Regions from separate parts of the Homo sapiens genome. Here region 1 is linked to region 2. The links are contacts of gene promoters, found by promoter capture Hi-C in blood cells and fetal thymus (Javierre and others, 2016). All regions are on one chromosome and are shown on one strand. Each heading gives the region's core, a stretch centred on a gene start or on the middle of the fragment in contact. The rest is flanking DNA. Distances are from core to core; before and after follow the strand shown. Region 1 overlaps ST7 (suppression of tumorigenicity 7). Region 2 holds the start of TES (testin LIM domain protein).

What was found. Contacts are between HindIII fragments. The CHiCAGO score rates a contact against its expected background, and 5 or more counts as called.
Region 1: a fragment that was not itself captured here is called in contact with the fragment with the promoter of TES in region 2 in 1 of 17 cell types (activated CD4 T cells); the score reaches 6.4 in activated CD4 T cells.

What each region holds. Positions count from the first base shown.
Region 1 is chr7:116,957,535-116,964,464 of GRCh38, forward strand. All of the region lies in intron 1 of ST7 (suppression of tumorigenicity 7), which reads left to right. ST7-OT4 (ST7 overlapping transcript 4) reads left to right here. Exons shown (of 5, transcript NR_002329.2): 5 at 1,619-2,283. Among named protein-coding and RNA genes, the nearest start is that of ST7-AS1, 6.7 kb to the left of the region's middle. RefSeq lists a silencer at 5,825-5,874. The HindIII fragment of the contact is 4,993 bases long and covers 1,745-6,737 here.
Region 2 is chr7:116,206,716-116,214,149 of GRCh38, forward strand. TES (testin LIM domain protein) reads left to right here and starts at 3,824. Exons shown (of 7, transcript NM_015641.4): 1 at 3,824-4,019. The coding sequence starts at 3,993. RefSeq lists silencers at 3,543-3,672, 3,706-3,968, 3,723-3,922, 4,063-4,152 and an enhancer at 4,513-4,752. The HindIII fragment of the contact is 9,726 bases long and covers 602-7,434 here.

The sequences.
Region 1 (6,930 bases), core at 2,991-5,490, 750 kb after region 2:
GATACAATAGTGTTAAAATAGTTTTATGATTTACTGAAAATAGAATGAAATTTTAACAAGGTTTTTAAAAGACCCCAAATAATATTACTTGTCAGTTTTCAAGTGAATTAATATCATAAAGCAATACTTTTCCAAAGGGCAGAAAATTAATTGTAGATTGGCACAGTCATGCAGGATATTATTAAAATAGGTGAGTCTTAAAAAATAGTACCATAACTTATACAGTGGTGTTGATGGCACTTTCTCATCTACCCTATGTTATAAAGTTTTTTGCTGCTGAATTTAAACACCTTTTCCTAAAACGGGCAACTTTGCTGTTTTTGCAAAAAGCAGCATAAGTGATTTTCCAATTCTTTTTCTATTTGCTGAAAAGCAAGTTTTCAAAGATCTTTGAAATCCGTTTTCATTCCTTTTGGAAAACAAATGTAATAGCCTGATCTAGGCTTAAAGTTATTTATTTACTTATGTTTGAGACAAGGTTTCACTCTGTCACCCAGGCTGGAGTGCAGTGGTGCAGTCACAGCTCACTGCAGCCTCAACCTGCAGGCTCAAGCAATCCTCCTGTCTCAGCCTGCCACCTCAGTCTTAGTAGCTGAGACTACAGGTGCACACCACAGTGCGTGGCTAATTTTTTTTTTTTTTTTTTTTTTTTGTAGAGACAGGGTCCCCTGTGTTCTTGAACTCCTGGGCTCAAGCAGTCCTACTGCCTCCACCTCCCAAAGTGCTGGGATTCCAGGTGTGAGCCACCGTGCCTGGTCAAGTTATTTAGAAGACTTTTTTTTGTGTTAATTAAGCTCATGAATACAGATGTAAAACTCTTATATTGTTGACGTGATATAGAACTTAGGCTGCAGCTCAGTTTTGGCATTTTTTCATGTTGAGAATTTTTGCTCTAAATTTACTTAACATTTAGATTTTAATTTACTTAAAATTTACATAAAATTGGATTTCCCTTCTAGAGGGTCTGGTTGCAGTTTACATAGGTCTTTTGCCCCTGTTGTGCCTGTTGTCTAAAATGTTCTTCCCTATCTGTAAATCCCACCCATCTATCAAGGACCAGCTGGCATGCTGCCTTCTGATCCTTTCAGCTGCAGAAAAGACAGGCTTACCTTGGAGATATTGCAAGTTTGGTTCCCGGCCACTGCAATAAAGTGAGTCCCATGAAATTTTTGGTTTCCCAGTGCATATAAAAGTTATAGTCACACTATATTGTATTATATTAAGAGTGCAGTAGCATTATATCTAAAAGACCAATGTATATACCTTAATTTAAAAATCCTTTATTGCTAAAAAAAAAAATGCTATCTGAGCCTCAGGAAGTCATAATCTTTTTGCTGGTAGAGAGTCTTGCCTTGATGTTTATGGCTGCTGACTGATCAGGGTGCTGGTTGTTAAAGGTTGGGGTAGCTGTGGCAATTTCTTCAAATAAGACAACCGTAAAGTTTGCCACATGGATTGGTTTTCCTTTCCAGAGAAAGATTTCTCTGTATCATGTGATGCTGTCTGATAGCATTTTACCCACAGTAGGACTTTCAGAATTGGAGTCAATTTTATCACCCTGCCACGGCTTTATCAATGAAGTTTATGTAATATTCTAAATCCTTTGTTGTCATTTCAGCAATGTTCACAGCATCTTCACCAGGAGTAGATTCTATCTCAAAACACTTTCTTTGCTCATCAAAAGAAACAGCTCTTTATCCGTTCAAGTTTTACAAGGAATTACAACAATTCAGTCACATCTTAAAGCTTCAGTTCTAATTCTAGTTATTTTGCTGTTTATGGCATGCCTGCAGTTACTTTATCTTATATGAATTATGGTATATGTGTGTGATATATGTGGGTCAGTGTTTGTGTATATATGCATCTTTTTTTGTATATGTATGTTTTATTACTTCTTCTAGATTCTAGTTCTTCATCTTCCAGTGTTAATTCCTTGTACAAAGTAGGTCCTTATCATTCACTGGATGAATGAATATCCAAGTTACGGTGTATTTAGTGAGCTGGGATTGGAACAATACAATTGATCAAATGCATTACTGAGTATGTGCCCCATCTAAGTTTGCAGCTTTAGATTGTGGTCAGAGGCTGTTACAAGATCTTATATATTCTATGATGGGCCATATGCATCTAAAGCATGGTGGTTCAGTTTATGAATATATAAAAGGACAATTTTTTGATTAATGTCAGCTTTGAGTTTAGAATGTATCCCAGACATCTTAGTTGCCCTTAATTATTTTTGGAGATATTTTTCTCAGCCATTAATAAAGCAATCCGAATGATGCATTTTTCTCTGAGCTTGAGTTTTTGTATATGTAAAATAATGGCTTTACATTCATTAAGTTTCCTTCTAGCTCTGGGATTCTGTGTCTTACGATGAATTTCATTGAGTGCAAAGTGTAGCACCAAGATAATACATGGACTTAATGAGTATACATGTTTTTTACAGTTTGGACTCTTAATACTTAGTGAATACAAGTCCAGATTTTGTATGACTTCCTGCAGTGGCTTCCATTGCATTGAAAATACAATCTAAGTGTATTACCTTCATTTACAAAGTTTGATGCTATGGCTCTTTCTTACCCCTCAAATCTGAACTTCCACCTCTCTTTTTCTAGATCACCACCCTCCAAATACGCTGGGATTCTTTTTTTTTTGTTTTGTTTTTTTGTTTTTAAGACAGAGTCTCGCTCTGTTGCCCAGGCTGGAGTGCAGGGACGGGATCTCAGCTGACTGCAACCTCTGCCTCCTGGGTTCAGGTGATTCTCATGCCTCACCCTCCCAAGTAGCTGGGATTACAGGTGCATGCCATCATGTCCGGCTAAGTTTTGTATTTTTAGTAGAGACAGAGTTCGCCATCTTGTCCAGACTGGTCTCAAACTTCAGGCCTCTAGTGATCTGTCCCCCTCGGCCTCCCAGAGTGCTGGAATTCTAGGCGTGAGCCACTGCAGACACATAAAATTGTGCTGAAGTATTTCTAATCACTTCGAGTTACAATTCTGTTAAGTTTCATTTTGCCTGCCAATATTATTCTGAAAAATTTCCCAACCAAATCTTTCTTGTACTACTGTGTCATTGCTCACAGACAATTTTTTTCCACATTGGTAGAACCCTGAACTCCATTCATACAGATAATATGAGGTACTTAACTTGTACATTTGTTTAAGTTCCTTATTGATGCTGGATATTAGATCTTTGTCAGATGCAAAGTTTCCAAAAATTGTCTCCATTCTGTAGGTTTTCTGTTGACTCTGTTGATAGTTTCTGTTGCTGTGCAGAGGCTCTTTAGTTTAGATTTTATTTGTCAATTTTTGCTTTTATTGTAGTTGCTTTTGGTGTCTTCATCATGAAATCTTTGCCCATTCCTGTGTCCTGAATGGTATTATGTAGGTTGTGTTGCAGGGTTTTTATAGTTTTTGGTTTTACATTTAAGTCTCTAATCCATCTTCAGTTGTATATGGTGTAAAGAAGGGGTCCACTTTCAATCTTTTGCATATGGCTAGCCAGATATCCCAGCACCATTTATTGAATAGGCAATCCTTCTCCCATTGCTTGTTTTGTCAGATTTGTCGAAGATCAGATAGTTGTAGGTGTGCAGCATTATTTCTGGGTTCTCTGTTCTGTTCCATTGGTCTATGTGTCTGTTTTTGTACCAGTATCATGCTGTTTTGGTTACTGTAGCCCTGTAGTGTAGTTTGAAGATGAGTAGCGAGTAGCATGATGCCTCCAGCTTTGTTCTTTTGCTTAGGATTGCTTTGGCTATTTGGGCTATTTTTTGGTTCCATATGAATTTTGAAACAGTTTTTTCTAATTCTGTGATGAATGTCAGTGGTAGTTTAATAGGAATATCATTGAAATTGTAAATTGCTTTGGGCAGTATGGGCATTTTAATGATATTGATTCTTCCTATCCGTGAGCATGGGATGTTTTTCCATTTGCTTGTGTCATCTCTGATCTCTTTGAGCAGTGTTTTATAGTTCTTCGTGTAGTGATCCTTCACCTCCATGGTTAGCTGTATTCCTACGTGTGTGTGTGTGTGTGTGTGTGTGTGTGTGTGTGTGTGGTGGGGGGCAATTGTGAATAGGTCTGCATTCCTGGTTTGGCTCTTGGCCTGACTGTTGTTGGTGTATAGGAATGTTAGTGATTTTTGCACATTGATTTTATATCCTGAGACTTTGCTAAAGTTGTTTATTAGCTTAAGGAGCTTTTGGGCTGAGACTATGGGGTTTTCTTTCTTTTTTTTTTTTAATTTTACTTTAAGTTCTGGGATACAAGTGCAGAATGTGTAGGTTTGTTATGTAGGTATACGTGTGCCATGGTGGTTTGCTGCACCTATCAACCCGTCATCTAGGTTTTAACCCCTGCATGCATTAGCTATTTCTTCTAATGTTCTCCCTCCCCTCACCCCCCCACCCCCTGACTGGCCCTGGTGTGTGGTGTTCCTCTCCCTGTGTCCATGTGTTCTCATTGTTCAACTCTGACTTATGAGTGAGAACATGCAGTGTTTGGTTTTCTGTTCCTGTGTTAGTTTGCTGAGGATGGTGGCTTACAGCTTCATCCATGTCCCTGCAAAGGAGATGATCTCATTCCTTTTTTATGACTGTATAGTATTCCATGGTGTACGTGTACCACATTTTCTTTATCCAGTCTATCATTGATGGGCATTTGGGTTGGTTCCATGTCTTTGCTATTGTACATGGTGCTGCAATAAACATATGTGTACATGTGTCTTTATAGTAGGATGACTTATATTCTTTGGGTATATACCTAGTAATGGGATTGCTTGGTTAAATGGTATTATTTCTAGTTCTAGATCCTTGAGGAATCGCCACACTGTCTTCCACAAAGGTTGAACTAATTTACATCCCACCAACAGTGTAAAGGCGTTCCTGTTTCTTCACAGCCTCACCAGCATCTATGGTTTCCTGACGTTTTAATAATCACCATTCTGACTGGTGTGAGATGGTATCTCATTGTGGTTTTGATTTGCATTTCTGTAATGATCAGTGATGGTGAGCTTTTTTCTATGTTTGTTGGCCACATAAATGTCTTCTTTTGAGAAGTGTCTGTTCATATCCTTTGCCTACTTTTTAATGGGGCTGTTTGATTTTTTCTTGTAAATTTGTTTAAGTTCCTTGTAGATTCTGGATATTAGACTTGGGCAGATGGGTAGATTGCAAACATTTTCTCCCATTCTGTAGGTTGCCTGTTCACTCTGATGATAGTTTCTTTTGCTGTGCAGAAGCTCTTTAATTATGTGACTCTGGGGTTTTCTAGATATAGGATCATGTCGTCTGCAAACAGGGGTAGTTGACTTTCTCTCTTCCTATTTGGATGTCTGGGCATTCTATGAATATTTGTGTGGTTGAGATAGTTACTGACTTTGGCCTTACAGCTTGATGATAGACTTGGTCCCTTGACTAGAATGCAATCTTCATATGAGACTGTAAAATGAATAAGTGCTTTGTAGGCTGTAAAATACTATTTAAATCTGAGGCATTATAGTAGGTCTTTTCCTCAGAAGGCTATATTCTATATTCTATAGGCTTGGCTCTCACAGTGAAATGACACATTAAACTATATAATAGAATCTTTTTTATCCTCGATATTCTTTCTAAAACTGCACCAAGCAAGATAATGGGTTATTGGATTGTTTGAAACCACACTACTGTCTGTTTGTTGTAAATGTGGAATAATATCTCTCAACATCATTATTGTATTTGAGATGTTGTTGTAAAGATATCTGTAAAGGGCTTTGGATTTTCCAGAAGAGAGAACTTGTAATGAAACTCATTTTTCTTGTTACAGTGGGGCAAGACAGTTGCTGATGTGTTACCATTACCCATCATTTAAAACTAGCAGGCATTCCTATACTACCTACTGTGCTAAAATAAGGAACTGACAGGCCCAGTTAGTTAGCTGTAGCAGTATTTTATGTTGCTGTGGCTGTGGTATCACTGTTTAATTGCAGTTACCAAATCTCTCAGCAAAGTAAGGCAACATTTATCTGAGAAAGCATTTTTTTCCATTCTGAATTAACTGAAAGTGCACTGGTTACACTTATACTCTGTGGAGAACCCTAACTTTGGTTCTTTTTTTTCTTTTTTTTTTTTTTTTGGAGACGGAGTCTCACTCTGTAGGAGTGCACTGGAGTTCAGTGGTGCCATCTCGGCTCACTGTAAACTCCGCCTCCTGGGTTCAAGCGATTCTTCTGCCTCAGCCTCCTGAGTAGCTGGGACTACAGGTGCATGCCACCATACCTGGCTAATTTTTGTATTTTTAGTAGAGACAGGGTTTCACCATATTGGCCAGGGTGGTCTCAAACTCCTGACTTCGTGATCCGCCCGCCTCGGCCTCCCAAAGTGCTGCGACTTTGGTTCTTAAGTTGACCTCCGCATCTAATAAAAGACTGTGGTTAAGTATCAGTCTTTCAGAAATTTTGAGCAAGGTTGTAGAGCGTTAAAGGACTTTAAAGGCATCTCTTAGGTCAGTGAGGAAGGACTATTTGTTTTATTATTTAAAAAAATTAACATTTAAAAACAGCACAAACAGAAACACTCTGAAGTATAAAATCGTCTTAAATAAGGAAGTAGTTTTTACACATAAGCTGCTCATATCTGGAGTTATTGTGTGACCTAGATTTAGAGTTTTGTCTTGTTTTGGTCAGTTGTTAATACCATTCTAAAGTATTATTTTATTAGTGACAGGTAATAGTAGAATGCTTACAGTTCTCTTTGTTAAGCTTTTCCAGTTTCTGGACTCTGTCTTGGGAATGAGAATGAAATTTACTTCCCTACAAATTGGGTTTTTTCATTTATTTGATAGACCCTGTTTATTGAACGTTCCTAATAGAGCTAATAAAATAATGCTCTTGGGGTGTTTTGCAATTTATTACACCTGCTCCACTCAATTGATTCAGATTTGTATAGTGTT
Region 2 (7,434 bases), core at 2,574-5,073:
TAGAGGGGTTGAAATCCCAAACTGGGTATTTTGCTTGAACTAGGGTGATGTCAATTAACGAGCTGAGACTGCCTTTATTGGTTGCCCATGTGTGCAGGAAAACAGAGTCTTCAAAGAGAAAGAACTAAAGCTGATGGAGGCCAAGCAGCAAGATGAGAGACCACATAACCCCAGTGAAGGAGTAGATTCCTTGTTCCAGATGTTGGCAAGTGCCTGGTCTAGTCGCAGATGCATCTGGCCCTTGAGTTTTGCAACAAGCCTCTGTATCCTTAAAATAAAATGCCATCTTTTTAAAAGTAAACTAGCTCGAGGGTTACTATTACTTGTGATATGGTTTGTATATTTGTCCCCACCCAAATCTCATGTTGAATTGTAATCCGTAATGCTGGAGGTAGGGCCCAATGGGAGGTGTTTGGATCATGAGTGGCTTGGGCCATCCCTTTGGCAATAAATGAGCATTCTCTCTGAGTTCACAGGGGAGCTGGTCATTTAAAATTGTGTGGCACACCTCATCCTCCCCCACCAACACATTCTGTCTCTCTTGCTCCTGCTTTTACCATGTGAAGTGCTTTCTCCCACTTTGCCTTCTGCCATGATTGTAAGCTTCCTGAGGCCTCCCCAGAAGCCAATGCAGAAGGTATGCTTCCTGTACAGCCTGTAGAACTGTGAGCTAATTAAACCTCTTTTCTTTATAAATTACCCAGTCTCAGGTATTTCTTTATAGTAGTGCAAGAACGGCCTAATATAACTTGCAATCAAGAGTTTTAACTAAGACACTTATTCATCTTCCAAGACTAAGCCAAGGTTACTCTTTTCTAAAGATTTTACAAATCCCAATACCACCTTCTCCCTGACTCTCACGTGTGCTTCCCTCTACCTGTAACATTTCATTACTCTTACACACCTGCTACTCCCATACTAATCTGTAAACTGCTTAAGAACAAAGGGAATGTCTTATGTATTTTTACATCTCTCCAGTGATGAAGGGTACATAAAAGTTTAACACATTTCCCTCATCGGATATTGTAATTTGATAGCATAGAAACTGAATTTAACCTGAATAAATATTTTGTTTGGCCTATACAGAGAACTTCAGTCTCTCTCTCTCTCTCTCCTCTGTCTCTGTCTCTGTCTGTCTCTCTCTCTCTGTGTGTGCCTGCACACATGTGTAAAATCTAGTATTTTCATTTACTTCTCTAAAGATAAAGATCTTAAGACCATTCCTTAGTATTATCCAGTATAGTATATTGATTTCCTCTCTACTTGATTGAAACAGCAGAGTTGGGCATTTATTTGGCTGATGTGTCCATAAGTTTTGTGGAAAAGTCAAGTCCAACATTGACTAAAGCACTCTGGTAGAAACAAAGGGAGATAAAATTATAAAGTAATATCTTTCCCCACAACTGCACCAAAAATGCACTTTCCAAAGTCACCAATGATCTCCTTTTTGTTAAATCCGAAGGGCATTTGACCCTTTTCTACAATTTGACATTGTTAACTAATTTCTTCTTCAATTTCCTTTCTTGCTTTTAGGGATTTGACTCCTAATTTTTTTCTTACCCTTAATCTAGCCCTTATCTCTTTTATGTGTTTCTCTTGCTCAGCCTTGCTCACTTGGTGTCTTTGATATTCTTCTCTTTTATTTTACTGTCTCCGAGGCTCATCTCACTTCTTGGCCTTTAATTATTTATTTATGTAGGATGTGAACTCCTAAATCAGCATTCAAGATGTATATTTGGATACTCATTTCAATGTCTCAGTCTCAAACTCAATATATTAAAAGTTGTATCCTTTATGTCCACCACCAGCCCCAAAGAATGCACAACTGAACAAAACCCTGACCATCATCCTATATTTTCTCTCTTTCTGAGCTATCCATAGAGGTGATCAAGATAGAAATGTGTGCCATCTTCTATTCATTCCACTGTCATCAACTACATGTACTCATCAAACCATGCCAGTTCTACCTCCTTAATAACTGTAGCTTAACACCTGAATAACTGAACAAAAACTTACAATTTAACTCTCTTAACACTTATCTACCTCAATTTTATTTTTATAATTTATACATAATCTATAATTATTTTTATATAATTGGCACAGTGATAATTCCAGATAAAACTCACTGAATTTCTATTTCCATCCTTGCCAATGATACACACACACAATGTAATGCTGAGAGGGTTGGGAAGGAAGAATGGGAGAAAGGCAGAAGTTGACAGTTAAAAAAAAAAAGTTTCCAGATGGTTTTCTTAGTGTCATCTCTGCAACCTCATCAAATAAGGGTCCAAAATTTATGTTACAACATTTGTTTGATGCCTTATTTAAATTGCTTTACTGGACATTTTCCATCTGTTAAGCTCTCTGAAAGAAACAAAATTGCCTTGTCATAGCTAGACCTCATGATCCTATACACTTACAACGGGCAGACTTTGCAGGGGCCCACACCTTTCAAGGTGGTTTGGGAAAATGACACAGAAAAGTTTTACATCAGCTGAAAAGAAAAATGCATAACTCATTTTGGTAATTTCAGTTTTAATTCTTAATAGGATAAAGGAAACATGCACATTATAAATCAATGCTCTGTGTTAACAAATAATCAAGTAAGCAGAGTTGCAAGTATTGGCTAAAATGAATTTTGGATATTTTTAGCTACCAAATTTCTCGAGGCAAGGCAGACATACATCTGGACCTGAATATCTGCATTATTAGGGAATTTTTGTTTGTTTGTTTTATATTGTTTTGTTATTTTTAAAAGTAGGTGCCAAATTAGGTCACCTGCTGTCTGGGCAATGTTATTTTTTGCCATAACCACAAATTGAAGAAAATTGACTGCTCTTTTTCCTTAGTCAACATGCTGTGCTTCCAGCCCCAAACATCTTTGAGAAGTTGTTTAGATTCATGAGCAATGCCTCTGTCCCCAACAGGCTAAGACATTAGGCAGGTCCCTGCACCTCTGGAGTCCTCAGTTCCCTGCAAAGTGAGGAAGCTAGACTAAGTAATCGTTAGGCTCCCTTCCAGACCGACCAATCTGATGGTATTAGATGCAATTGCTCCTGAATTAGGGCATGAAATGAATTCAGCTTTGGTGCACCAATGTGATGACTCTGCTTCATCAAAGCCTGAGCACGCGATAGGCCTAGCACCATCTCACACAGAGACAAAGGGCAACCCTCTGCTTCCAAAGGAATGACACAACCTGTTTCTGAAGTGATTCACATCATCTTTACTTTTGAACAACCCAATGCTCAGAAAACAATCTAAGAATCTTCGCTGACTTTAGGGATGTAAGATACGGTTTCTTGACAGTATTTGGGATTGTGGAAAAAAGCAATTGAGGAAAGGGCATCTCCACAACGCAATATTGAATTTAGTGCCCAAGGTCCATCACAGGAATCCCTAACGATCCCTACAATCTCTCTCTCTCTCTTTTTTTTCTCTCTTTACCCTGAAAATAAACTGAGAAGTTAGTATTGGGATAACTATTCCCCTTGACCCAAATAAAAAGTCCTGGGCAAACACAGGTACAAATTGCCAAATGGAAAAAGTTCTTCTCCATCTTCAGCTAGAGGGAGGCTGGGGATCCCAGCTCTTTAGAAGCCGGCCCGTGGACGCCCAGAGAATCCCTTCGGAGACCAGGTCAGGGTCACTGAGCTTGCCCAGCAGGGCGCCGCCTCGGACGCCGCCCCGCCTCTCACCTTGCCAGCGCCGCGCTCGGGCCGCGAAGGTGCGTGCGGCGCTCGGTGATTGGCGGCGGCCCGGAGCTGCCCGGCTGCCATTGGCTGCCCGGCCCCCTTTGTTCCCGGGTCCGGGCCGCAGGCCCGCTGCGGCGGACTGGGCGGCGGAAGTTCGACGGCGCCGGGCGAGTGGCTGTTGAGCGGCGCCGCGGGAGTTCCGCAGGTTTCCCGTGTTCGCAGCGGAGCCGGAGGCCAGCTGAACCCGGCCGTGGGATCCCGGATAGGAGGAGGAGGGGACCCATAGGACGCGTTAACATGGACCTGGAAAACAAAGTGAAGAAGGTAGGGGGGCGCTCGTGGCGGGCGGCGGCTGCTTCACCTGCGCGGGTCGCGCGGCGCGCGGCGGCCGGAGGTGCCGAGGTGGGTGGGGCTCGCGGGCCCCCCGGTGTGAGCCCGGCTCTGGGTCTGCGGTGCCCCGGGCCCAGGGACCTGGCCCCCTGGGTAGAGGAGGTGCTCGGCGGCCCCGCCAGCTCCCCACACTCGGGAGCGACAGAATTGGAAGCGCGAGCGAGGGCGGGCGCGGGACTCTTCTCTCCAGTCTCACGGAATCCCAGTGGTTGTAGGTGTTGGAAACTTTACTTAAGATGTTTCAGCTCTGCCTGTGCCTCCTCAAAAGGAAAGGACGAGCTTAGGGCGAGTGCGGGCGAGACCGTGACACTTCCTGGCTCAGGAAGTTGAATTTCATTAAGCCTTTGTGGTTTGGGGCTCTGCTGTGCTTTGACAGCTCTGATCTCCTCCCTTCCGGCTGGGCTGTCTGGGGCGCTCTAAAATGAGTGTTGATTTAATGCACTGCCTTCGCACCCGTGCTGGTGATAACTTCTAATGTGATTTTTTTTTCGGTCATTCATTACTTGTCTACCGACCGAGGCAGTGCCTCCCTCTTAGGGAATTATCTGTCAAAGAGCGCATTCTCCTTGTTTGGCAGGTAGTCCCAAAGGGCGGTTGTCACCAGCGTCTCAGCGCAGGGAGACATTTTCAGCTTGGCTGCTGCCTCGCAGGCACTGGAACCGACGGCCCTACCTGAGCCACTCCCGGGTTATGCGGAGCCTGGTGTCGCCTGGGAGAAAAGGGTGGGGACCAGACTATGACTCAGAAGGAATGCTGATGTCACATTCGAGTGAATTGCCCTGTGCGAAAGTTCTCCTCGTTCCAGGGGATTTGCTCATGTTTTACTTTGTGGTAAATTTAAGCTAGCTGTCCCTTATCAAATAGAGAAGTTTTGCAGAGAGAGGAAGGGAAAAATACAGAAAACAGTTTTTGTTTTTCTCATACTCATGGTTCCTAATATTTTATCTTCTAAACACAAAGTTTTTGACTTGAGCATTAATTCTATTTTATGCCCAGAACTGGATTTTTGAAAATGGATACAAAATATTGTGTTAGGACTGCAGAGTTTTCGGTTAGGAAGCTATTGACCAATAAAAACTCGAAATGAGAAAACAGTTTTTTTCATTCCTTGCGACTAAAATTCTCAGGCACTCAAAAAGGTATCCAAGAACAGAAAAACATAAATTGTTAATGGTAGCGTGATTGCATTCTATTCTCTTCCCATTTGGTTTCTTTCTTTTTTTCTTTTAAATAACTGTAATATTTTTGGTTAATCTTGCTTGTCATGGGGGAAAAGCGGGGAAAGCATTTTGCCCGCTTAGCTTTCTGTTGATGAATACTACTCTCATTTAGTTTTCAAGTAGGTAAGAGCTACTTAATTTAGTACTTGTCTAAAACTTGGGGGGTCTTGTCCTTGCTTTTAAGTATTTATTTGAAGACAACTTTGCAAAAGTAAACATATTTTGGGCTGCCGAGGATGAACAGGTGAAGCACAGGATTTTTAGGGTAATGACACTATTCTGTATGATACTATAAAATGGCTGATACATGTAATTATACATTAATCAAAATCCATAGAATGTAGAACACCAAGAGTAAACCCTAATGTAAACTATGTATGTTGGGGATAATGATGTGTCAATGTGTTTCATCACTTGTAACAAATGTACTGCACTGATACGGGTTGTTGGTAGTCCGGGAGGCTGCTGGAGACAGGAAGGCATGGGGGAGGTACATGGGAACTTCGAATTTTCTGCTCAATTTTGCTGTGAAGCTAAAAAATGCTTTAAAAATAAAGTCTGTTTAATAGGGGGAGAAAAATCAAAGACATTTTTGAAACTTTTTGAGACAAGGAGTAATTCTGAGGGAAGAAGTTCAAACTTAAAAATTGTATATGCTTGCAAAGGAAAAATCCAGACGTTGTTTATAAACAATTTCCTTAGAGTTTGAAAATGTGGATTATGATAAATAATGCCCTTGACATATGGTGTAATTTTCCTCGTTTATCCCCCACTTTACTTTTAAAAGTTATATTTTCAACCAAGAATCTTAACTTTCTCTAATCCTCCTCTTCTCCGCCTCTACCACCCCAGAAAGAATTCCATAAATTAAAGGTTTTAGAGAGAATCCCATGATATAACAAATCCCTGTTTCACTACGTTGTCTTCACTGATGATTCTTAGAATCCTCAACTGGTAAATTGGAAGCTATTAAAAAACCGCAGAGATGTCCCGTATGACTCCAATTTGTGAGTCCCTTAATAGGCTTGATAGTCTAACAAAAAGTTTCCCAGTACAAAATTTGGAAATCTCAGGAATGTATTTCACAATCTTAGCCATACTCTCAAAAAGAAATTTATGTTCCTTTTAGCAATTGTTTTCTAACACGTCCAAAGAAGGAAATATTACAAGACTATCTGATTTACCAGCAGAGTCCTCACCCTATTTTGGTACCTAGTTTTCAAGTCTCCTTTCTTTTTGACTCAGTTATTCAAGAAAATTTATAGTTTGAATGTACCTTGAGAAAAGGAAGATTAAAAGTTGGAACAAAGATACAACCATTTAAATACAACTAATATGACTTCTGTTTTAAGATGTATGACATTTTTTCCTTCTAAAACTTTTACATTGTTGATTTCATGAGGAATTTCTTCCAGACAGATGAAAAGCATCATTGTTCCACATTAACATTTCATGTAAAAAGAATTAAGGAGGACTGTCTTTATTAAACAGTGATTGAGATAGATGATACTATTATAAAATTCTTGGTTTGTAAAAGGAAAGCTCGTCCACATCAGTTGTACAAATTGGGATTAATTACCAGTTAAAACCCACCATCACAAAGACAAGGGGTTTTTATAATTAGATTTTGCTATATTTTGTTTTGTTTGAAGAAAGCGAGCTGTTGCTAGGATGTGGGAGCTAGTTTGGTTATACAAAGTTTTTGTTTTAATAATACTTTAGAACAGAATTGATTCTATGTCCTTGCCCTGTCTTCTGAGTTACACATCTAGACCTCTTTCTTATTTTTTAAGTCTCATCTTAATTGGCTTTGTGTCAGTATGGTCCATGTCTGCTTGGGAAAAACAGTGGACTTTGAGAAGCAGAAACAGTCTCATTTTGCGGTGAATGGTAAATCATGGCCAACAGCCAGCTGTTTTCCTCTTTCCTTTCTGTGTTACTCTCCCATGAGAAATATTTTTTTTCAATTAAGAACATACCAACAGAGAAAGAGAACTACAATAATTTCCCTTTTACTGCCTGGAATTGCTGCAGGGCTTTTTCATTTTACCGTGTTCATTTTTTCTCTCCTCTAACCCCTTTATTTTGATTAATCCTAATATTTTGCATACTTTTCTTAAGACTCTTAT